7 separate regions of the Homo sapiens genome follow, and all the other regions are linked to region 1. Evidence: promoter capture Hi-C in 16 types of primary human blood cells and fetal thymus (Javierre and others, 2016). All regions are on one chromosome and are shown on one strand. The core of a region is centred on a gene start or on the middle of the fragment in contact, and the rest is flanking DNA. Distances in the headings are between cores, read along the strand shown. Region 1 holds the start of HEATR5A (HEAT repeat containing 5A). Region 2 overlaps G2E3-AS1 (G2E3 antisense RNA 1). Region 3 overlaps G2E3 (G2/M-phase specific E3 ubiquitin protein ligase). Region 4 has its middle 50 kb from the start of RNU6-8. Region 5 overlaps G2E3 (G2/M-phase specific E3 ubiquitin protein ligase). Region 6 has its middle 28 kb from the start of RNU6-8. Region 7 has its middle 7.9 kb from the start of RNU6-8.

What was found. Contacts are between HindIII fragments. The CHiCAGO score rates a contact against its expected background, and 5 or more counts as called.
Region 2: a contact is called between a fragment that was not itself captured here and the fragment with the promoter of HEATR5A in region 1, in 2 of 17 cell types (total CD8 T cells and activated CD4 T cells). The highest score is 5.2, in total CD8 T cells.
Region 3: a fragment that was not itself captured here is called in contact with the fragment with the promoter of HEATR5A in region 1 in 2 of 17 cell types (naive CD4 T cells and activated CD4 T cells); the score reaches 5.8 in naive CD4 T cells.
Region 4: a contact is called between a fragment that was not itself captured here and the fragment with the promoter of HEATR5A in region 1, in 11 of 17 cell types (M0 macrophages, total B cells, total CD4 T cells and 8 more). The highest score is 8.4, in M0 macrophages.
Region 5: a contact is called between a fragment that was not itself captured here and the fragment with the promoter of HEATR5A in region 1, in 1 of 17 cell types (activated CD4 T cells). The highest score is 6.5, in activated CD4 T cells.
Region 6: a fragment that was not itself captured here is called in contact with the fragment with the promoter of HEATR5A in region 1 in 1 of 17 cell types (activated CD4 T cells); the score reaches 5.3 in activated CD4 T cells.
Region 7: a contact is called between a fragment that was not itself captured here and the fragment with the promoter of HEATR5A in region 1, in 4 of 17 cell types (activated CD4 T cells, non-activated CD4 T cells, total B cells and 1 more). The highest score is 7.7, in activated CD4 T cells.

The regions. Positions count from the first base shown.
Region 1 is chr14:31,418,836-31,422,283 of GRCh38, reverse strand. HEATR5A (HEAT repeat containing 5A) reads left to right here and starts at 1,734. Exons shown (of 36, transcript NM_015473.4): 1 at 1,734-1,812. It overlaps HEATR5A-DT (HEATR5A divergent transcript), which reads right to left and starts at 1,526. Exons shown (of 4, transcript NR_110045.1): 1 at 1,307-1,526; 2 at 316-440. RefSeq lists enhancers at 1,414-1,563, 1,994-2,043 and a silencer at 2,154-2,273. The HindIII fragment of the contact is 6,619 bases long and covers 1-2,421 here.
Region 2 is chr14:30,548,441-30,551,888 of GRCh38, reverse strand. All of the region lies in intron 3 of G2E3-AS1 (G2E3 antisense RNA 1), which reads left to right. Among named protein-coding and RNA genes, the nearest start is that of G2E3, 9.0 kb to the left of the region's middle. The HindIII fragment of the contact is 198 bases long and covers 1,659-1,856 here.
Region 3 is chr14:30,567,110-30,570,557 of GRCh38, reverse strand. The region is part of intron 1 of G2E3 (G2/M-phase specific E3 ubiquitin protein ligase); the gene reads right to left. The region is part of intron 2 of G2E3-AS1 (G2E3 antisense RNA 1); the gene reads left to right. Among named protein-coding and RNA genes, the nearest start is that of G2E3-AS1, 8.5 kb to the left of the region's middle. The HindIII fragment of the contact is 825 bases long and covers 1,502-2,326 here.
Region 4 is chr14:32,251,255-32,254,702 of GRCh38, reverse strand. No RefSeq gene overlaps it. Among named protein-coding and RNA genes, the nearest start is that of RNU6-8, 50 kb to the right of the region's middle. The HindIII fragment of the contact is 2,285 bases long and covers 696-2,980 here.
Region 5 is chr14:30,601,123-30,604,570 of GRCh38, reverse strand. G2E3 (G2/M-phase specific E3 ubiquitin protein ligase) reads right to left here. Exons shown (of 15, transcript NM_017769.5): 9 at 2,677-2,801; 10 at 2,440-2,572. Among named protein-coding and RNA genes, the nearest start is that of SCFD1, 19 kb to the left of the region's middle. The HindIII fragment of the contact is 2,745 bases long and covers 467-3,211 here.
Region 6 is chr14:32,229,106-32,232,553 of GRCh38, reverse strand. No RefSeq gene overlaps it. Among named protein-coding and RNA genes, the nearest start is that of RNU6-8, 28 kb to the right of the region's middle. The HindIII fragment of the contact is 712 bases long and covers 1,381-2,092 here.
Region 7 is chr14:32,209,441-32,212,888 of GRCh38, reverse strand. No RefSeq gene overlaps it. Among named protein-coding and RNA genes, the nearest start is that of RNU6-8, 7.9 kb to the right of the region's middle. The HindIII fragment of the contact is 3,413 bases long and covers 492-3,448 here.

The DNA of each region.
Region 1 (3,448 bases), core at 485-2,984:
GACTACTGCACTCCAGCCTGGGTGACAGAGTGAGACCTTGTCTTCTTGTCTCAAAAAAAAAAAAATTACACACACACACACACACACACAACACAGAAGCTAGAATGAATATGAGACCTTGTCTTCTTGTCTTAAAAAAAAATTGAACACACACACACACACACACACACACACACACACACATATCACAGAAGATAGAATGAATGGGGCCCCTACCCACCAAACTTGGGATAATTGAGCATCAAAATAAATAATGATAGAGACAGAATATTGGCTGGTGTGGTGGTGTGCATGCCTGCAGTCTCAGCTACTTACCTGGGAGGCTGAGGCAGAAGGATCACATGAGCCCAGAAGTTCAAGGCTGTAGTGTGCACCATGATTGCATTATCGACCTGTGAATAGCCACTGCACTCCGGCCTGGGCAACAAAGGAGGCCCTGTCTCAAGAAAAAAAAAAAAAAAAAGAGAGAGAGAAAAGAGAGAAAGAAACGGATTATAAGTCATTTAACAAAATAGAAACCTCTGGATCCATACTAATTAATATAAATACATTAACTGAAGATTTGATGAGAAACAAGATATTTACAAATATCTTGAAAGGAGAGTTTCAGAGTCTCCCTCACAAAATACTTATTAATTTACAAAGGGGGGAAAAAAGTAACCACACTGGACAAGCCTAACAGACATCACCTTATTAAAGTAAACATCTGTAATGAGAGAAGTTAAAATCGTGCCACCTGATAGGGTGCCATGAGAAGAAAGCAGCAACACTTCTAGAGTCCTGTCATACCTAGCTAAATGTAATCATGAGTAAATATCAGACAGACCCAAAATGAAGGCCATTCTACAAAAATAACTGGCCAGGAATCTTTAACAGCGTCAAGAATATGAAAGGCAAGGCAAGACTGAGAGTTCCAGTTTGAAGAGTAGGAAAGATACATGATAAGTAAATACAATGCCTGATTCTGAACGGAATCTTTTACCATAAACAATATTATTGGGACAATTGGTAAAACGCCGAGTTATGTAAATGTTTTGATTTTGATGGTTATATTGTGATTATGTAGAAGGTGCTTAGGGACAATGTGGCATGGTGTCAGCAATTTAAATCTCAATTCAGGGAAAAAAAGTTCTTTGTACTATACTTGCAACCTTTTTGTAAGCTGGAGATAGATTCAAAATGAAACTTGAAAAATGACATTTAAAACGCTGAGTGTAGTGGGAAAACGCACATGACTCAAGGTAAGAGGCTATTAGTCTCAGTTCTGCCATTGACTTAGTATGTGACCTTGAGCAAGTCACTTTACCTCAGTCCTCACAGTCAAGGCTCTCTAGGGTCCCTTCCACGTCTAACATCTACCCCCACAGCACTGGCCCCGCCTGAATTTCTCCAGGCCCTTTAGGTGTCCCAGAGCTGCACCCAAAGACTCTGGCTTACGATAAAAACAGACAAAAATAGTTGTGGCCGGAATCTCCGGACTGAAAAACCGCTGTCCTAATCCTAACTTGGGCCGCAGTCTCCATCGCTCTTTCGACGGTGAAGCAGTCACGCCTGCCAGAGTGGGCGCTCGATGGCTCGGCGGCCAGCTGGCGGGGCCTTGGACCAGCGGCCCGGCGCAGGGCGCGCTCCCAATCGCTAGCTCCCGCGGTGCTCGCCGCTGAGAGCTTTCCGGCCACGCCCCACGCGCGCCCCGCCCACCTCAATGCCTCGCTGTCGCCGCCGCCGGCAATTCCAGACTCTGCTAGGGTTAGCAGAGCAGCCGGTAACGTTGCTGGACCGGGACGCACGCTCAGCTGAGGAGGACCCCCAAAGGCAGGCAGTCGGGGATCCAGGGAGCGGGGACACCTCCGGGCGCGAGGGGGCTGTGTCTGGGCTGCCTGTTGGCTGGGAAGGAGAACGCACCAGGGCCGCTGTATGAGTTGAGCGCTCGGGGATCCCGAGGGTGGTCGCGGCAGCAATGTGATCGCGAAAGAAGCCGGTGGGAGAACCGGTCGAGGGGCTAGGTGTCTTGACCCTAAGGGCTGGAGTCCGCCGAGAAGGGGCTGACTGGGGCACAGGGTCGGCTGATAAACAGCGTGGTCCGTTCTTCCTCCTGGACTACGGGAAAGTCTGGCTTCACCTGTGCACAACAGGTAGGCGTGGACTCTGCCCGCCAGCGGGAGCCGGGGTTGCCGGGCGTGTGGGGAAGGTCAGCAAGTCGGAGCCCGCCTCGCCAACTCGCCGCTCCCGGGACCCGCCCTGCGGCGTCCGCTGCGCCAGTGGTCAGCCAGGAGCCGGGCCCCGGCCCGGCCTTCGGGCGAGCTTCCTCAGAGGCCCGTTCGTTTTCTGCAGGAACCCTCAAAGAGAGTTCCCAGAAGGGAGCAGTGGAGAGTGTGGATATTTGCTTTCTAACTGTTGCAGTTCTCTCCAGGAAAGAAAGCTTTTCCTTTGGTGGCATTTGCTTAGTGTGAGGAAACATTTTCTTTCACCCTACTCTCGGCCAACGCGGCGTTATTTCAAGTGATTATAAAGTCTTTAGAAACTTTATAAAGCGTTTTATAGTGTTTATTTATCACAGTAATGGATACCTCTGGCAAGTTGGGATAATTTTCTTGACTGTCAAGTCAGATAATAATAAAATGGCTTGAGCTCCTACATTAAAGGTCATAGTTATCCATTGTTTTTATGTGCATTCATTTATTGAACAAATATGCAGCACTTTTTTGGGGCTAGGCGCCCTTAAGGAATTTACAGCCTGAAAGATATTAGAAGTTTAAGGAGGAAAAAAAGGGGCCCACAAGTACACTTAAGAACTTCCAGAGAAAATACTCCCAGTGAAATTACTTAAGCTGTAGGGAAAGCAGAAGTGTGGTTAGAATTGAGCATTAGTTGGATGGGGAGAGGAGAATTTTGTTTAATTTTCCAAACATTTTAGAAAGTATGTCTTTGAGAAAGTAATTTTAGATAAAGTATCGAAGCCGAGATTTGTGTTACATTTTAATGCCATTGACTTTTTTTTTTTCTTCACTGATAAGCAGGCAGGATTTATAATATAAGAATAGTGACAGTTGGAGAATACTGTAGTATGGATTTGTTGTGCCTTGGAATGCAGTTGTTTTACCTAGATGACTATAGAATAGGAGAATAAGAAAAGACTCCTCACCTGAAAGTCAGGAGACCTGAATTCTAGCTTAAGTTCCCTCCACTATTTATGGATGTTAGATTAGGTCACTTTTTTAGTATTATTCATTATTGTATCTGACTTTAGTCACAGAAAATACATGACTCCAAAGTACCTTTTTAATTCTTAAATTATTAATTAAAATTAACTACATTAAACTAATGAATATATTATCTACAGAAAAAAATTATTTTTTTACTTGTCTTTAACCAATACACTTACCTTTCTTCTTGCTTTGTTTCAAAAAGGTTGAGGTAGTTTATAATAGTCTTTCTTAACTATGAATAA
Region 2 (3,448 bases), core at 508-3,007, 870 kb after region 1:
AAAGTGTTCATCTAACTGCTGTTCAGTCTCTTGTAAGTTAAACACACCTCCTCCTGGCAGCAGGAAGCAGCATCCAAAACAGCGAATTTCAGGTCTTTTGTTTCAGGGTTGTTTGGATAATAAGTAGCTATACAGTAACCACAGTGATTTGGATTGACATCATGCCTGCTGGGTAACTGTATGGATTTTACAAAGGACTCAAAGTTTGCTTGTAGCCAATATGAGACATGTGTTTTAATATAGGTCAAAGATGTGGTATGTTTATGTTAACATTACTCCTCTCTAAGTTGGTGTTTCAAACAAATGATTGTCTGGATTGCTTTTTAAAATTGCTGTCTTTTGGCCTGAAGTGTTTACATAGAAATCAGAGCCTCTTTACAGTTAAGAGTAACTCCAAATGCAGGAACACACATTGGTAATGCCACCCAGAATAAATCAAGTAATGAACAACATGCTTGAACTGAATCTTTAACATTCTTGGATACAATTGCTGGCAATCAAAACTGTTTTCAGTTTGTGTACTTTGATTTTTTAATCCCTCCCAGAATACTTGCGGAAAATGACTCCGCAACTGAATTGATAAAGTGACTCAGTTATAATAAGCCCAATCCTTACCTGAGTGTTTTGTTGGGGGTGAAAGAAAACTTCAAATTCTCACAAAGGTCTAGGGCACAGAATCATCACTTAGGAAGCAGGCACTTGCTCAAAGTTTAGCTTCAACACTTAGGGCCATTCTTTAGGAAACATTTTTCAAGGATAGTAAGTAGTGCAATGTTAAGAGGCGAACCTGAAAGCAAAACAGGCTGAGGTTTAAATACTAGCCGTTTTACTTACTAGCTAAGTATGAAGTACCCAATCCTTTGAGCTTCACTACACATTAATCAGATGTAAATAATAACTACCTGACAGGTTTCTTGTGAGCTCTAAGTGAGAGGACATTTAATGGTAATTATAATTAGGCAAATGGGTAAGACATACAGTTAACATCCCCTTCCTTCTCCTTTCAATGGCATCTGGCATTCCATGCCCAGTATCCTTAGGCTTGTGAGCCACTGAAAGGCACAAAGGAACTCTCCTCCCAGGTGGATCTTAGCCTCATATTCCTTTTCTCTGCCCTTCAGAACATATGATACATTCCTTAGTGACCTGCTGTCTACTTTCCACCTTGGTAGTGATTTGAGTTAATCCATGTTTATAGAAAGAGCTAATAAACTAGCTCTAATAGGTCATATTTGTAGCTGAAATAGTGAGAATTTCAGGGCAGTTTGATGTAATGTTTGCTATTTAACCCCTGTACAATTTTTTAAATTGTTTGGGTTTGCAAGTCTAGTATCTCCAAGTTGACTCACTTCTTAGGTATTGTACAGTAATAGATATTAAACTTTAGCCTTCCCACAGTGGTCATAATGGGGCAATGAGTCTTCCTGTAGGTGAGGTTAACTAATAAAAGGTATATGATTGGAAAAACATAAAAGGAACTAACATTTGTTTAATGCTTTCTACATTCAAAACACTGTGCTAAAACTAAATGTTGATTTACTTAATCTTGACAAAGTAGGTGATGAAACTAGGGCTTAATAAGATTAAATAATTTGTCCAAGGCCACAGTAGGCAGAACTGGTATTTTAACTATAGCTTGTTTGGTTGGACACAAAGCTTGTTCATTTTCCATTACAATATTTCAATTCACACACCCAGCAGAGATAGGAGCAGTGATAAGAAACCTAATATTAATCTAAAACAATTAGCTAATAGCAAAGTTTTTTTTTGTGAGAAATTTGCTTGTTCATCTATAGAACTGTAGGACGTTAGTTTAATAAAGAACCTCAGATATCATCTAGTATTAGGTAGAAGCTTTGTTAATATTAGTACAGAGACGACTTTTTAGTACTAGACTGAAGGATGAATTAGATCAACAATTTTCAAAATGTGGTTCATGAGGTCAAACTATCTTCAAAATAATACTAAGACCGTTTGCCTTTTCACTTATATTCTCTCACAAGTGTACAATAGAGTTTTCCAGAGGCTGCATGGGGTGTGATATTGCAACAGACTGAATGCAGAAACTGATATGAAAATCCAGTGATTTTCTTTTTCTTTTCTTCTTTTTTTTTTGAAATGGAGTCTCACTCTGCCACCCAGGCTGGAGTGCGGCAGCGTGATCTGAGCTCACTGCAACCTCCGCCTCCCGGGTTTCAGTGATTCTCCTGCCTCAGCCTCCCTGGTAGTTGGGACTACAGGCACCCACCACCACACCCCGCTAATTTTTTTGTATTTTTAGTAGAGACAGGGTTTCACCGTGTTAGCCAGGATGGTCTCGATCTCCTGACCTTGTGATCTGCCTGCCTTGACCTCTCAAAGTGCTGGGATTACAGGCATGAGCCACTGTGCCCAGCCAATCCAGTGATTTTATATTAAATTATCCACCAGAGAGATTTATATAAAGGTAAAACAATGCCATTCTTCTCACTAAATTATTTTTGTTTTAGAAAACACAAATATTTATGTTAGCATGTAGTTTCATAACGTTATTTTAAATAACAGTCCCACCCTTCAGCCCAATAGTGGGCAGCTGTGAATATGTTTCTGGAGCAGCTTGCACACAGCTTGCAGGAACCAGAACAGGCAAAAAGGACCATGTCCTAAAAATATTGGGGATCTGTGCTGTGATCATTGATTGCTGCATCTGATCACAGAGGTATAGAAAAAGAGGTGGTGGTCATTACGGTTGCACTAACCCCCATTGTTGCAAACCCTCCCACTCCTCTGGCTAAAGTAATATCCAGGAGATTTAAAGAGGCAGAGCCTTTTCTCTCCTGTTATTTTTCTCTGTCTCCCCTTATGGAAGTAAGACATTGAAGACTAGGACATTCAAAAGCAACTGCATATGTAAGGAAAACTAGAAAGTCACCACACACGCCCAGGTGAAGGTGCAGGCTCAGCAAAGACCAGAGAAGGCCTTAAGTTTAAACCTCAGGCTGATCCTCAGCACAGACACAACCTATAACAATAACAGCAACAAAAATAATAATAAAACCCAAAACACCAGCAAAACCTAGGGAAGGGAGAGAACCTGATTTCCAAAGGTACGACATTATTAGATGCAAATATACAGTTTTCAACAACAACAAAAAAATCACAAAGCATACAAAGAAACAGGAAAGTATGGTCTTTTCAAAAGGAAAAAAACAATAAACTATCTTTGAAAAAGACTGGATGGCAGATCTACTAGACAGACAAAGACTTTAAAACAACTGTCTTAAAGATGCTCAAAGAACTAAAGGAAGAAATGACAGTCAACAAAATGATGTCTGAACAAAATGGAAAAATCATTAAAGAAATAAAAAGCCTAAAAAGAAAAAAATCGTGGAGCTGAAAATTATAGTAACTGAAATGAAAAAAATCACTAGAAGTATTCAAAGGCAGATTTGGGCAGGCAGGAGAAAGA
Region 3 (3,448 bases), core at 665-3,164, 850 kb after region 1:
TTATCCAGTCTGAAGAGCAGAAAGAAAAAAAATGAAAAATAAACAGAGCCCAAGAGACTATGAGACACCATCAAGTATACCAATATATGCTTAATAGGAGTCCAAGAGGGACCGGAGAAAGTGGAACAGAAAGAATGTTTGAAGAAATAATAGCCAAAAACTTCCCAAATTTCATGGAAGACTGAAATCTATACAGGTAAGACTTCAATCTACACATTTTTAAGAAGCTCAAGATCTTTAATCAGGACAAATTCTAGGAGATCCACATTGAGACACAGTATAGTCAAACTGACAAAAACAAAGACAAAGAATCTTGAAAGCAGCAAGAGAGAAGTGATTAACACATACAAAATATCCCCAATAAGATTAAGAGCCAAATTCTCATTTGAAACCATAGAGTTCCAGAAGGCAGTGAGATGACATATTTAAAGTGCTGAAAGACAGGAAAAAAACCCAAACCTGTAAGCAAAGAATCCTATCTGCAGCAAAACTATGTTTCAAAAGTGAAGATGAGTACACATACTCACATGGGAGGCAGGCAAGTAAACAAATATTTCACACACATGCAGTGTAGCCTTACAGAGGTGGTGATATTATAACGTAATTGTGAAAAATAAATATTCTGAGCAGACAAGGCAGAAAAAGCATTCTAAGTAGAGTGTGTGCAAAGGTACAACAGTGTGTGAAAGCCTGGGATGTTTGGGGAATGTCAGGAATTTCTTCTGGAAGTTGCTCTTGCTGATTCTGCCATTTGGTTGGATTATATAAATCTCCTTGGATTGGATTATCAGATAGTAAGTAATATAATCCCCCCCCTTCACCAGCTGGTCCTAACCCTGACTTCGTGGGCAGGTCTTATTCCAGTCCTAGCCCCTTCCACTGACCAAGTCAGGCTCTAAATAACCAGCCCAATCCAAAGTACCCTTCTTAAAGCAGGTGGCATCTTTTTTACTACAGTTCAGGCAATAAAGGCTATTCTGTCACAACTCCCACAGAACCAGGTCTTCTCCTGTCTAAAAAATAAGGCCTTAATTATATTTTAACAGGACAATGTATCTGCTACCTTATGTGACAGAGCAATTAAACTTTTAAGATTCCAGGCAGGACCCAGGCAGAGGAACATGGCAGAAAGAACATTACACTTGAATTATACATTTTCTGTGTTTGAACTCCTTGCTCTGCCTTGTGTCCAATGGAGATGATAATACCTACCTATTAGGGTTCTTATATGCAAAGCAGGAGAAGTAATTCGATGGAGAGAAGGAAGGGTGAAAGGAATTCAGAAAGATCAGAAGTTTCTGAGATCAAGAAAGACCATAAAGTTTTTAGGTCCCTAACTGTTAATGGTGGTTATCCCTGGGGAGAGAGAAGGGGTAGGGGCTTTTTCTTTTAATTTCTTATAAATTTTGGCATTGTTTGACTTTTTACAATGAACATAATTATGTACTTAAAATATATTTGGCATATATATTATACCTCAATAAAAAGTTTCTTAAAAGCTTATATTCTCTGGAAAATCATCCAGGAGACAGACAAGAATGGCTGTTTCTCAGAAGGTCTGGTAGACCTGGGGTCTAGGGTGAAAGGGAAACTTTTAGTAGATCTGTCCTACTAGAGATGCTAATGGGACACCAGACAGTAAGTCAAAGCCATACGAGGAAATAAAAACACCAGTAAAGGTAATTACAGAAGTAAATATAAAAGCCAGTAGTATTATTGCACTTTTGGTAATTCTCTTTTTCCTTTATGATTTAAAAGAAAAACACGTAAAATAAATATAAATCAATGTTATTGGGCACATTATGTATAAATGTAAAATAAGCAAAAAATATAAAATGTAATTTGACACAATAACATTTAGGAAGAAGGATGAGATATACAGAAGTGTAATTTTTGTATACTATGAAAGCTGAGTGGGTATTAATTCAAACTAGGTTGTTATAAGTTTAAGATATTAATTGTAATCCCCAAGATAGCCACTAAGAATATAACTAAAAAATATGTGCAGAAAAGGTAATGAGAAGGGAATCAAAATGGTACACTATACAAATCAATTAAACAAAAGGCAATAAGGAAGGAAATGAGGAACAGAAAGATAGTATTTAGAAAACAAATACTAAAATGTCAGAAATCCTTCCTTAACAGTAATTAAATGTAAATGAATTACACGCTCCAATTAAAAGGCAAAGGTTGACAGAATGAATTTTTTTAAAATCCATACATACACTATCTACTAGGGTCAAGCTATAGATATCAAAACACAAATAGATGGAAAGTAAAATGACAGAATAAGATACTTCATACAAACAGTAATCAAAAGTAAGCTTGGGTGTTTATACTAATGTCAGACAAAACAGGCTTTAAGTTGAAGATTGTTACAGGACTCAAAGGACATTAAAGACTGACTAAAAAGTTCAATCCATCAAGAAGACATGACAATTATAAACACAAACCCACCTAATAAGAGCCCCAAAATATACAAGGCAAAATTTGACAGAAATGAAAGGAGAAATAGTTTAGACTTAACATATACAGAACACTCCACCCTACAACAGAATGAAACATTCTTCTCAAATGCACGTGGAACAATATCCATGGATATACCATGTTAGACCACAAAATAATACATTTTACAAGACTGAAATCACACAAAATATCCTCTCCAATGACTATGGAATGAAACTAGAAATCAATAAAAGGAAAACTGGAAAACTGAGAAACATATGGAGATTAAATAACAACTTTAAATAGACAAAAAGTCAAAAAAGAAATCACAAGGGAAATTAGAAAATACTTAGAGACAAATAAAATCAAGCCCCCAAAACAATGACCCAACTATATGCCCAAAGAAACTAGAAAAAGACCAAACTAAACCCAAAGCTAGCAGAAGGAAGGAAATAATTTAGAGTCCAGATAATGTAATAAAAAAATTTTTAAATTGAGAATCAATAAAATAAAAATTGCTTGAGAAGATCGACAAAATTGAAAACGTTTAGTTAGATGACCCAGAGAAAAAAAAGAGAAGACTCAAATTACTAAATCAGAAGAAATGAAAGTGGGACACTGCTACAGACCTAATACAAATAAAAAGAATTAAATGAGACTATTATGAACAATTGTACTCTAAGAAGTTAAAAGTTAACAAATTAAACAATAGGTTAAACAAATAACAAAAGTGACAAGAAGAAATAGAAAATTTCAACAAATCTACAAACAAGAGATTGAATCACTAATGAAGAACCTCCCAACGAATAAAGTCCTAGCCCAGATGGGTTCACTGGTGAACCCTATTAAACCTTTGAAGAAAAATTGGCACCAATCTTTCTCAAACCCCTCCAAAAGATATTATGACACTTCCTAACTCATTTTATGAAGCCACCAATACCCCGATACCAAAGCCAGAAAAAGACATCACAGAAAATAAAACTACAAGCCAATTATCTCTTAT
Region 4 (3,448 bases), core at 589-3,088, 830 kb before region 1:
AGCTCACTGCAGCCTCAACCTCCCGGACTCAAGAGATCCTCCCACCTCAGCCTCCTGTGTAGCTGGGACTACAAGTGTGTGCCACCACTCTCGACTAATTTTGTATAATTTTTGTAGTGATGAGGTCTCACTATGTTGCCTAGGCTGGTCTCAAATTCCTGGTCTCAAACAATCCTCCTGTCTCAGCCTCTCAAAGTGCTGGCATTACAGGCTTGAGCCACCGCACCCGGCCTCCTGCATTTCTAAAATTTCTAAACCCAATGAAAACTTTCACTAATCTTCATCACATGCACCTATAAGGGTGTAGTTACAAATTGTCTTTTCTAAAGAAACCCATGGATTTTACATTGCCTCTTTCCAAGGAGAAAAGTCATACAGTATCCAAAGTTACACAACGGGTCAGGAGAACAGCCCAGAATACCTGTCAGTGTCTCTCGATTGAAGTGTTTATTCACAGAAGCAAAGTCATGTTTAAAGCTGAAAAAGTATTTCCTAAAATATACTCTAGTTGAATATTTCAGGTACAATAGTAAGTAGGTCACTTGCTCTCTAGGATTCAAAGAATATGGGCCTGCATTACTCTGTTTCTGCCCTGAACAGGAAAGTTAAAAGGAAACACTGCACAACAAGAAAATCCACAGCACACAGCTATTTAAGCAGCTGTGGCTTGGGGGTCAGGTCTATCACTGAAAGCTTTATAGATAATCTTCAAAACTAATTTGACCCACAAAAGTAAAACCAACTGGGCTTTCCCAAAAAATCTGCAAAAACCATATTCATAGTATCACCCTCCCTTCCAGATAATTTATAGTCAGAAATTGAACCCAAGAATAAATGCCCTAGAAATATTTTTTTAAATAGCCTAAATTTGACTGTCAAATCATGTTCCTTCTCCATGTTTTTTTTCAGTGTCTAATCTGGTCCTACTCCTACCCCCAAATAATTTTCCAGGGGTCCCAGGGGTGCCCCATGCTCTACACACCTTCTTTTTTTTTTTTTTTTTTTGAGATGGAGTTTCGCTCTTGTTACCCAGGCTGGAGTGCGATGGCACAATCTTGGCTCACTGCAACTTCCGCCTCCCGAGTTCAAGCAATTCCCCTGTCTCAGCCTCCCAAGTAGCTGGGATTACAAGCATGCACCACCACGCCCGGCTAATTTTGTGTTTGTAGTAGAGACGGGGTTTCTCCATGTTGGTCAGGCTGGTCTCAAACTCCTGACCCCAGATGATCCGCCTGCCTCGGCCTCCCAAAGTGCTGGGATTACAGGTGTGAGCCACCGCACCCGGTCCTACATCTTCTTGGATGCTATCTGCCACACAAAATAGAATAAGAGCTAGAAGGGACCTGACAGGAATACAGCTACTTCTATAGATAAGGAAAACTTGGTCCTGAAACAAACTCACCAAGGCTACAGCTTGCTAGTCCCAATATTGTAATTCCACCCCCCAGTGTCCCATCCCTCTAGGTCTCATCAGGTCATTCATTTTCACTAGAAGTAAGTGTAGGTCAAAGCAACTGGATTCATTACTACTCCTCTCAGAAAACAACTAACAAGGGGTTTTGGTTGAGAAATTTCAGAAAAAAACTGGTTGGTTGGTGGGGAACAATTTTGAACGATGGGTACTTTCCATGTCCTCAAATCACATTCTGCCTGTAAATAAATCACACTTCAAAAATACAAACATAAGAACTGATCTGTAGTGACCCGCTTATTGGCAACTGTAAAGAATGTAAGCTGCATGAGGAGAGAAACTCTGTTTTATTCACATCTGTATTTCCAGTATGTAGAATAGAAGCTGGCACTGAATAGCAGCTCAACAGCAAATATTCGTTAAATGAACAAAATGAAGAAAGCATCCCTCTTTTCTTCTCTCTATAGTCCATCCCCACCCCCATTTTGTTCTCTTAAGGTCTAGTTTCCTTAATCAAAACTATGTTCTGAGGTAAATATCTACCTGTCATTTATACTTTCGTAGCCTTTAAGTCACTGCTTGGAGTGTTTGGAATTTCAGTTTCACATCTAACAAAAGGCTTTGAACCCCCATCGCAGGTCTCCAGTCTCAGCCAACAATGGAAGGCCTTTGTGGCCAGGCCTTTCTGCACATATGGCCAAGATTTGGATTCTTTGGAAGAATAGCAAACTATTCATTGGAACAGCTCCCTTCCCCAGTGACCTCTTGATTCCCTCCTGTGGCTCTCCTTAGCCTTCATATCCTTGTAAAGTAATCTAAAACCCTATCTTCCTGCTGTCTTTATCTTCCTTTCTCAGCTGTCAAAACCTGGAAGACATGCTGCTGTTGCATATTTAGCCTCAACTATATTGTTTAATAAATGCCAAGTTGCCAGTTTCTCACACTCCACTCTATGAAGCCAGAACACCTCACCTTACTGAGTTAACCAGGAACCCATGCTCACCCTATAATACACTAGGGGGTGCTGTTGCTATATCCAGACCCAGTTGCTGTAGCCCGACTGGAAACAGGAAAAGGAAACAAGGGAGCCTTCAGGGTCCTGAGAGACATTTCTAGATGGGCCACTCTCTGCACAAGCCCTCAGCACAGTTCCTCAGAAGCAAAGAACATTATACCTTACCAAGCCACACAATTCCAGAATGAAGTTCACAAATGGTACAAAAAGAAGGGAGGGCTGAAGATCTCCAAGCGAAAGGCTTTATTGTAAGACTCATTAACATACATGGGCCTACACAATCATATTTATGCCAGCTGCTAGATGTGAATAATTAATGCTCACCCTGCTACCAGTTAAAACTCTGTTTAGACAATCAAGTGGCAAATACTGTCAGGCAGAATCGGATACAACAAATGCAATCATAACAGGCGAGAAATACTTGAGTTTATCACTGATTTTCACAATCATCTTTCCTTGTATGTGATATCTAAGACTTTGGGAATGAAAGTTTTATATACAAACAAATGAGTATCCACCTCTCTCAGCCCGCGGCTTGGCTGCTGCACAAAGCTTCCAAGCTGCCAGGGAAGCCTCCTTGGCCTCACTTAACTCTTTGCTGAAATGACTGGTAGACCCCATATGACAGAGAAAGCTCTCACATACATCAAAAAGGCTTTTGGCCTTTCAAATTTCTGAATAAGTCATCATGAAAAAAGAAATATTTTGTTGGGTTTGTGGATTTTTTTAAGATAAGTTTTAAAATGTGCATTTTAAAAAAATTATCTGAACGAGACCCTCACCTAACAGTGTGAACGTTAAACATTCCCACACAGAGAAGAATGGATCTCCACCAAGGGAAATATGTCTGGTATTAATCCAAGAAGAAACAATCTAGCTCACCCTCCCTGCCCCACAAGCTAGGGTTTCATACCCTTTGTGGTATGATTTGCAGTACTCCTCACAAAATGCTAGTAAGAACTCATTAATGCTAACAATTGAATTGGAACTATCTTTGGCTCCAAAAGCAACCCAGCCAAGCT
Region 5 (3,448 bases), core at 590-3,089, 820 kb after region 1:
TTGTTAGAAATGCAAATTACTGAGCCCTACAGCGCATCTATAGAATCAGAACCTGTCGGCATGAAGCCCAGCAATCTGTTTTAACAATCCAAGTGACGATATAAACCAGCTCAATCACTCCTTCCCTCAGTTTCTCCATCTGTAACTGGAATTAATGTTCTCAAAAATAATCTTGTTTTGGGCAATGCCCATGGATCATTTTCCATACCAAGTATGAATCTGTCCCACCCCAAGACGTTACAGTGCCCTAGTGTAGGCCAGGTTTTGCTTTTTCTTTTTTCTTATGATCCTCTCTTCATTAACTCATGTTGAATAAAAGCGAAAGTCCTTTGGAAGTAAGATAATTCTTCAGAAACATACCTTTTTTATAGCAGGTTGATTCCTTGCTCCTGCCTGGATCAGGGGAATGCTGATGCTATTCTTCTAAATATGACTGCATGTTAAAGCAGGAGCAAGGAGTCAAGCTTCCCTGGTGTAGCGTCTTTGGAAATCTCAATATTAAAATTATTTTAAAATAATGTGAACATCTATTTTGATACTAAAAGTGTTATAACAATATTTGTAACAGATTTTTCAGTAGAGCTAACACAAGTGGCATAGTAAAACAGATATTCTTCACATTTTGAAAGAGTACTTAATATTCTACCTGTCTGCAAATCCAGTTATCAAATGTTTTCACAAAAATTCTCTTTACTATCTTCTAAGGTTTTAAACTTGAAACTTTTTAGAGACAAGGTCTTGCTGTGTCACTCAGGTGAGAGTATAGTGGCATGATCATAGCTCATTGCAGCTTGAACTCCTGGGCTCAAATGATCCTCCCACCTCAGCCTCTTGCCTAGCTAGGACTACAGGTGCACACCACCATACCTGGCTATTTTCTCAAAATATTTTTGTTGAGACAGAGTTTCGTAATATTGCCCAGACTGGTTTCGAACTCCAGGGTTCAAATGATCCTCCCACCTTAGCCTCCCAAACTGTTGGGATTACAGGTATGAGTCACCATGCCCAGCCTGAAATTATTTTTAACAAGAAAGTATTTCATCATGCTTAGCGACTAATTTTCTACTTCTTCCCTATTGGGTAAAGCAAGGCTCTAAAAACTCTTTTGCAAATCTATATAAACTTAAAAATCTTAACTACAGCTGAACAAATACCCAACATTATAAAGATGTAATTCCAGTCTTATTTAAATGTTTAAGATTTTGAAAGTAACTTATTATTTTGCTACCTTTTTTTTTTTTTTTTGAGACAGAGTCTCGGCTCTGTCACCAGGCTGGAGTACAGTGGCGCGACCTTGGCTGACTGCAACCTCCGCCTCCTGGGTTCAAGCAATTCTCCTGCCTCAGCCTCCCAAGTAGCTGGGACTACAGATGCACAACACTATGCCCAGCTAATTTTTGTATTTTTAATAGAGACGGGGTTTCACCATATTGGCCAGGATGTTCTCGATCTCTTGACCTCGGGATCCGCCCGCCTAGGTTTCCCAAAGTGCTGGGATTACAGGCGTGAGCCACGATGCCCGGCCTATTTTGTCTCATGGGAACAGAAATTAATTTGATAATAGTATGTATGCCTTAAACTTTCTAAAGGGAAGAGCTGACATTTAGACTCCTGCCATTGACAGTAAACAGGCAAACAATGATTATAACATCAAAAAATGGCAGGGCATAGTGGCGCACACCTGTAATCCCAACATTTTGGGAGGCAAAGGTGGGAGGACTACTTGAGACCAGGAGTTCAAGACCAGTCTGGGCAACATAGCAAGATGTCCATCTCTACAAAAATTTAAAAATTAGCCAAGCATGGTGGCATGCATCTGTAGTTCCAGCCACTTGGTAGGCTCAGGTGGGAGGATCACTTGTGCCCAGGAGGTCGGGGCTGCAGTGAGCCATGATCATGCCACTGTACTCCAGCCTGGGTAACAGAGCGAGACTTTATTTCTAAAAAAAAGAAAAAAGAAAAAAAAATTTCTATATTAAATAGGATTCTTTCCTTTTAATAAGGTGACACGGTATGCTTGATATTTTACTTTCCTGTCTTACTCTATAATCAAATAACATTTTAAGTACATTTTCCAGACCAGTGTTTTTCAAACTATCTTGAAAGTGATCTATAATAAAAAATATATTTTACATCATTACTCAGTACACAAAAAAATAATTAGGATAGATACACTTTTCCCACGTATGATGCAGTAGGATAGATACACTTTTCCCACGTATGATGCAGTTTGGTATTTTGTATTCTATTCTATCCCATTTCATTTTCTTTAAAATGCTGGTTGCATTGATTTCATGATCAAATGTTGGGTCCTGAAGGCTGAAAAACATTCTTCTAGACTACTGTATGATCACCTAATATTCTAAATGTATATGGCATTTCCTATCATAATTTTCTCCAAATAGATTTTTATGTATTTCTCCAATTCAAAATACATACCTCAGTAGATCTTTACTCTGGGATCCAGGTGACTGTCTGGGTAATTTAGGTGATGACTCTTCCAACAAACAATCTGTAATCCCCACATTATTAGAATTGGGTAATACATGTTTTTTGGCTTTTTGGAACTCTCCTACAGATTTAAATTTCCATGTTAGCATAATAGAGATATAGGTAAAAACTTTTAAATCATATACATTTGAATAAAAACTTTATTCAAAATTACAAAAAAATTACCTGAATTGTAGATAATACCCCTACATTCCAAACACTCCCAATTTTGCTCCCATGACCGTAATGAGGAGCAGGCTAAATGTGTGCCACTGGAACCACAACACTGACAGCGCTTTATTTCCCATTTGCTGAGGACACAAAGAAAAGCAGAACTTACATTTTGTTATTATTCTAGTTTCAACCACTAGCAATGTCCACAGGGCCTGCCTTCTTACACACAAACACGCACACACCCGCCCAATCGATTTACTAAAGGAAGAAAAAGATTATCTGCTTCTCTAAATATCTCTAATGTAAAAACCAAAACTAACTTATCACACTCATATGCACATACAAAGAATATAAACAAATATTTTGTATGTATATGCACATACAAAGAATATAAACATCAGACAAAATATGACTAAGAGGGAGAAAATAAATTTTCCTTTCTACTTAGAGATGACTATGCTTACAGGGAGATTGCTGTGTCAGTGTGTCTGATATGGAAGAAACATTCAGTAAATTTCAAGGTGAGGAATATTTCCTAAAATAAGCTTGCTCAAACACCTCAGGTATTGTGCAGTTCAACAGAATCCAGATCTACCTGGCTCATATTTATATTCTCTGTCATCTGTTCCCAGCTCCATGTTTCCCCACTGTGTTATGTGGTGTATGCCAGTCCATATTCATATTTTCTCCATGACTACAAGTGTGGGCTGTAGTGTAGGGCTCCAGCCTTTTTGTTGGGTATGACTATGCCTTCTCTGTTTAGAAACAGATTTAGCTCCCCGTG
Region 6 (3,448 bases), core at 487-2,986, 810 kb before region 1:
CACAAAGTAACTTCCCTATCCCTTCCTTCAATACATCCACAACTCCTAATTCAGGTCTTCTCACTCCTTCCCAGTCAGGGTAAGCTCCAGGTTTTCAGTTTCCTAAACAGGGCCTGGGCTACTGCAATGATTCTTCATGCAGTCATGATTGAACTCTTGTTTCTAGGAGACTGAAGCAGGCTTCTAATAGCCACCAGTTATCAAGTACATGTTATGTTGATAGTTTATCTCTATTTATCACTATTTACGTTGATAGGTTATCCCTATTTTACAGAGAAGGAAGTTGAAGCACAGAGAAGTTGAATAATTTCTGCCTGCAGTCACATCATTAGTAAGTAGTAGAGCAGGCTTTCAACTCAAGCGTGTCTGATCTTTAAAATAATAATGGTGGGTTCTTATATAGCATTAAGTGCCAGGCACTGGTCTAAACACTGTAAATACTAACTTACTCAATCTTCACAATAACCCTAGGAGAAAGGTACTATTTTTACCACTGCCACTATACAGATGAGAAAACTGAGGGGTAAAGTTCAGCAACTCTTTTAAAGTTGCAAAGCTAAAAACTGGCAGCACCAGAATTCAAACCCAGGCAGGCTGGTTTTAGCATCCATACAGGCCTTACCCACTGCCCATACTGCCCCCTCTTGCTCTCTGTAACTGGTTCTTTCTATAATCATTCATTCAAATATTGCTTAGGCCCCTACTATGTACCTAACACCTTACCAGGAATTGAAGAAAGATTACCAGTATTTGACAGGATACCTCCCTCAGAGAGCAGTAATCTAGATGGGCAAAACCAGTGAAAGAATATAAGAAGGCTGTTACTAAAATGTGAGGTGAGGCAATGCATGCTAGGGTACCAGGAGGACTTGAGCACTGGCACAGACAGGAGGGCCTCACAGAGCACTGAAGGTGAGTTTCCAGTAGGGAGAATAACATGTGAGCAAAGATGAAAGTGAAGAGAAGGACTGCAGGAGGAAGGAGGTAACCCCTTCCCATGCCAGGCTCTGCATTCCTGTTTCACATGTATTATGTATCTCATTTAGTCCTCCTGCAGGCCTATGAAACATCCTTAAAAAAGAAAATGAGGTGCAGAAATTCCAGCAATTCATACATGATCACACAACAACCAAGTGACAGAGCTAGGTTTGTCTGCCTCCGACACCCTTTCTCTAAACCTGGAACCTTTTCACACAAGCAAATGCCAACCGATGAGGCCAGGGTAATAGGCAAACGTTGACAGGGCCAGGAAGAATCTAACCATTCTGATTTCTAGAACCCTTAATGGGCTCTTTGTCTTTCTTCCATTCCCCAGAGGAGGAGTACCTGCATTTTCAACTTAGAAATCTCCTCCTACGGTGTTCCCACTGCAAATAAGCTTCCTCTCTACAGACTGACAAATAGTGATTTGCCTATTTGCAGCCCTCTAAAGCCAGCCAAGCCAACCAGAGAATGGGCCTGGCTAAAGCAGGCTCTGGCTCGTGGATCCAGTTGGTGAGGGGATACAGGCCAGGCTTAGGGAAACTCAAGGATCCCCTAATACAGCTCCTTTCCCTCCTAACAGGGAAAAACTGAGGCCCAGAGAAGGGCATGAGTCACTCAAGGCTGTACATTCCCCTATCCCCAACACACACAAAAAAATTCTTAACCCCATAAAAGTGCTTTGGCAAGCAGGGATCTGAAATTCCTGCAACAGCTTGGGGAGGAGGTAACTAAGAATCTGCCTTCCCACATAGTCTGTCTTTAGACTCCAGTGCTGCTAAGAGTAACAAGTACAAATCTGTTTACTTAGCAAGGTTGAGGCTTGACTCAAATTTTGTGTTGTCAGGATGGGGATGGGGGTGGAAGGGCATCTAAATGTGAATCATTAGATCTTAATCAGCAACGTGGGGAGTGGGATGTTTTGGGAAAGTGTACCTTCTTGAGCACCTTGGACTTGCTTTATTCCCTCTCCAAGGAAAGTAGGCCTGATGGTACAGCAACCCCTTGCAGCCTCTTATAAGAGGCTCATAGTACTCATCACTGCCTATAACAGAAATATAGATGTTGTGATGCTTCTGCCTGTACCCTTAGGTGGCCCTCTAAACAAGCTTTAAGTAGTACACCTAACTGCAGCAAAGGAGAATCTGCTGGTCAAAGAGCAAAAGCAGCACCTATTACTTCATTGTCAGAGTGTTTAAAATGTGTATCAAGGTCATTACTCATCAAATTTTCCCTCTGGGAACAGATAAAGTCCGTTGTTCTTTCTAAGGCCAAACGACTGTGTGCTGCCTGCCATTAATATTTCCTGTCACTCTTCAATTCCATTTTCACTAATCATCACATTAGACCATAGCCAAAAGACGTAACTTTAAAAAAATGTGCTTACCTTAATGTGCTCAGAGTATTTATAGGTCAATTTCCCTGCTGGTTACTATTAGCATAGTTTTATAATGTATAAAGAGTATTTCTTCTCATTCTCTTTAACATTAGGTAAAATCCTCAGAGGGAGCAGAACCTAGATATGTTTAAATAAAACAGACCAATGACCTAGGGCTATAGCATTCACACAGCAGTGGTTTGATATGCTTTTTCCCCCCCCTATTCTAGGACTTACTGACCAAAAGCACACTGAATTATTTAGGAACCTAGAGACTGGATGACCCAAAGGTGAGGAAGGTGGACCTTTCCCTCTGTCTTTAAATTCTCTATTCCCCAAGTATGCCTCTCTGTGTTTGCCTTCTAGCTCTCTGGCTACTCACAGTTAGGTTTATTTTGTACCTCCCTTTCTGCCAAGACAATAAATGTTGGTATTTCCTTGAAAAAATGCATCTACTCCCATATCTATTCCCATATCTACATCATAAACTCCCAAATTTGTACTTCAATTGATAGCTCTCTTCAGAACTTCAGGTCCATTCATCCAACTGCCACCTACACATCTCTAGGATGTCCCACAAGCTCCTCAAACTCCAACTGTAGAAAACTGAACCCACTGTTTTCTCTACCACCTTTCCTCACCCATTTCTTTCTATGGTCCCTGTCTTATTGATGGCACCACACTCCATCACTGCCCAAATCAAAGACCTGGGAATCATGCTTCACCCTTTGCTCCTCCTCACCCAAACTTCCTCACATCCTGCCAATTCCCTCTCTTGAATCCATCTACTTTTCTCCACTCACTAGCCTAGTTCAGGCCAAAATCCTCATTTCCCCAAATTGCAATAACAGCGCCCTTACCTGTCTTCCAATCCATTCTTTACATTAAGCCCAGTAATCTTTATAACATATATATCTTAGCATGTCACACCCCTTGCTAAAAACCCTTCTGTTACTCCGCTCTGTTTTAGGGTGAAGCCCAAATGCCTTCACCAACTGAAGAGACCTGTACAAGTTGGCTTTCAGGCTGGGTGTGGTTGCTCATGCCTGTAATCCCAACACTTTGGGAGGCCGAGGTGGGCGGATGGCT
Region 7 (3,448 bases), core at 949-3,448, 790 kb before region 1:
AGGTTATTGAAGTGGAAGCAGGATCCAAGCACTAAGGCTGGGGGTCTCAGTGGTTATGGGTTATGGGTTATGGATAGAGCAGCCAGTGAGGGATACAGAAAACAAGAAGTTTATAAACTTAGCATGAACCAGGATTATACATCACAAGAATGAGGACGTTTCTAGTGGAAGCATCATTGGATAGTTGAATGTTGGGTTTTGCCCCACCCCCCCCATTCTGAAGTACTAGGTGATTATACTGGAACCTTAACAGCTGACTAAGAATACAGTTTGAGCCTGCTGATACTCACTCTAGGCAATAACAAAGATCAATTGGCTAATAGTAGGTACAAGTAGTAAAACATTTAAGTCTTAATTTCCTCAAAGAGACAGCAGATCTTACCTCTCTCATTTTCATCATGTATTTAATAAACAGGACCCAAATGTACAAAACGTTTGTGTTAAAAAAATTAAGAAACATGTTAAACAGATAATACCTAATATTCTAAGCTTTGGGTGGCAGGGAAGGTGACTGGCCCTAAGTTTGCTTTCCCTTAAAGTTACACCGTTTCCTTTCCAATGTTGTTGTTTTTAACTGGTCATAATTTCCAAGATAACAGCTGACTACTGGGTTGTATTCCTCAGCTTAAGAATTGTAGGCAAGTGCTCTTCAGGATGTAGTGAAGGTCTCTGATGCAAATGCCCAAATGTTTTTGAATTAATGAATTATAAAAATCCGGCCGGGCATGGTGGCTCACACCTGTCATCCCAGCACTTTGGGAGGCCGAGGTGGGCAGATCACAAGGTCAAGAGATGAGACCATCCTGGCCAACATGGTAAAACCCCATCTCTACTAAAAATACAAAAATTAGCTGGGTGTGGTGGCATGTGCCTGTAGTCCCAGCTACTCGGAAGGGTGAGGCAGGAGAATTGCTTGAACCCAATAGGCGGAGGTTGCAGTGAGCCAAGATCGTGCCACTGCACTCCAACCTGGAGACAGAGCGAGACTCCATCTCAAAAAAAAAAAAAAAAACTAAAATAAAAAATAAATTTAAAAAATTCCAATCACCGCAAACCTTAAAACTGAAAAGTTTCTCACCGCAACAACAGCAATTTACACACCTGCTATGCTTTGCAATGTAAAGGCACAAGCGTTTCTCACAGATCTTTCTGTCAACCCTAAAAGGCAAGCAGGGTAGTTATTATCCCCATTTCATAAGAGAATGTGGGTTGTTCAAGGGCTGGGACTGGGGTTTGAATTCTGACCATCAGACCAAAATATCGTTCCATGACACCCAAAACACACAATTAATTAAAAAGAAATTTTTTTCACTCTGTAAAAATAATTGGACAGGAAGATTTGATTAATAAGTGTTTTACTTGCAATTAACACTATCAAATATGACAACAGGGGCAGCCTCAGTTTTTTTGGTAGATTGAAACTTAGACTTCTTGGTAAACAAAAACCTTCATGAGCTGTGTGAATGAACAGAGTTGATGGGGGGAGTGAAATCACAGCGTCAATAAAGAGATGTGAAATGTAAAGGCTTTATGCACCTTGGGTCCTAGCATGAGAAATTAACTCCTACCCACCTTTACAACCCAGGAATATACAGAGCCATTCCTAGAAGCAGTGAGGCTGGCCCATAGAGGCGATCATGTAGGAGGGCCTGAACAGCCACCAGGGGAAGAAGTGAGTGGAGGCTCATAATAGGAGTCCAGGGGTGTGTGTCACTCAGACCCACTGTTCTAGAATGATTCAGGTTAAACCTAGCTAGAGTAGAAGTGGCTAAGATTAAAAAGTTAATTACAGGCCAGGCGTGGTGACTCATGCCTGTAATCCCAGCACTTTGGGAGGCCGAGGCAGGCGGATCATGAGGTCAGGAGATCAATACCATCCTGGCTAACACGGTGAAACCCTGTCTCTACTAAAAATACAAAAAAATTAGCCAGGTGTGGTGGTGGGCGCCTTTAGTCCCAGCTACTCGGGAGGCTGAGGCAGGAGAATGGCATGAACCTGGGAGGCGGAGCTTGCAGTTAGCTGAGATCACACCACTGCACTTCAGCCTGGGTGACAGAGCAAGACTTCGTCTCAAAAAAAAAAAAAAAAAGTTAATTTCAAAGAATAATCTCATTAATAGCTTCCTAAGACCCTGAGAACCCAAGACAACATTGTTTTGTGATACTGATTGCGCTGAAGAGCAGCATGAGAAGACATCACGGTGTAGAAGTTATTTCTGAAATCGCCCCCATGTGAGCAAACCCTGTCTCACCATGAAGTAAGTGAGGTAGAGTCATGGAAAGATGTTGTTACAGTTGTGTGACTTTATTATACATTATTTCATTCAGAAAGTATTGAGGTCAGACTTTGTGGCAGGCATTGTTGTAGACAGTTGGAATACAGCAATAAATAGAACAGATGAAGTCTTGCTCTTTGGAAATGTTATTCTAGTTGGGGAAGACAGAAAGCAAGCAAAGAAATAAATACGTGTGTGATGGAAAGAGCTGCCACGAAAAAAGTAAAGCAGGATAAAGGGAATATGACTTGGCAAAATGCAAGTTGTGTTTCTGCTTTAAATCTGTTTTTATAAATCATTGAAAATCCATTTGAATAATCTTAGTAGTTGTGAATGTTGAGGATCATTTCATAATGATAACAGAATCAATTCATCAAGAAGACACAGCAATCCTAAATACGTATGTAACAGGAGAACTTCAAAATACATGAAGAAAAAAATGTCAGAACTGAAAGGTCAGATTGAGAACTCTGGAATTACAGCTGGAAATTTAAACAGTCCTCTTTGAATAACTGATGAAAGATATACAGAAAATAAGGATATGCATGATTTGAACATTATCAACTAAGTTGGCTAAATAACCCATGTGACAAAGAAAAATATTTAAAAATATAAACACAGTACAATAAAATTTGTAGGATTTAGCTAAAGTAGTGCCTAGAAAGAAATGTATGGCTTTAAATGTTTGTATTAGGAAAGAAAAAAGGTCTAAAATTAACAATCTAAACTTCTACCATGAGAAACTAGAGAAAGAAGAGGCAATTAAACCAAGAGTAAACAAAAGGGAGGAAATAATAAAAGGCAGAAATCAACAGAAAATGAACAATTCTATTTTGGGTTTCCAAAAAACCCAAAAACTGGTTTTTCAAAAAATGTAATAAAACTGATAAATTTCTGGCCAGATGGATCAAGAAAATAAGAGAGAAAATACAAAATACCAACATCAGCAATGAAAGAGACTACACTACATATACTATACTACAAAGATTAAAAGAAAATAAGGTAATATGAAAAATTTCATGCTGCTACTTTAGGACAAAACTACTGTTTTCCTTGGAAAAAAACAGAAGCACATACAGAGTTATATTTCTTTGAAATAGCTGTTTCTAAGTGTAGTCAACCATGTAACTATCACTTTTAACCAAAGTAACTTCTATTTTGCAGAGAAAAGT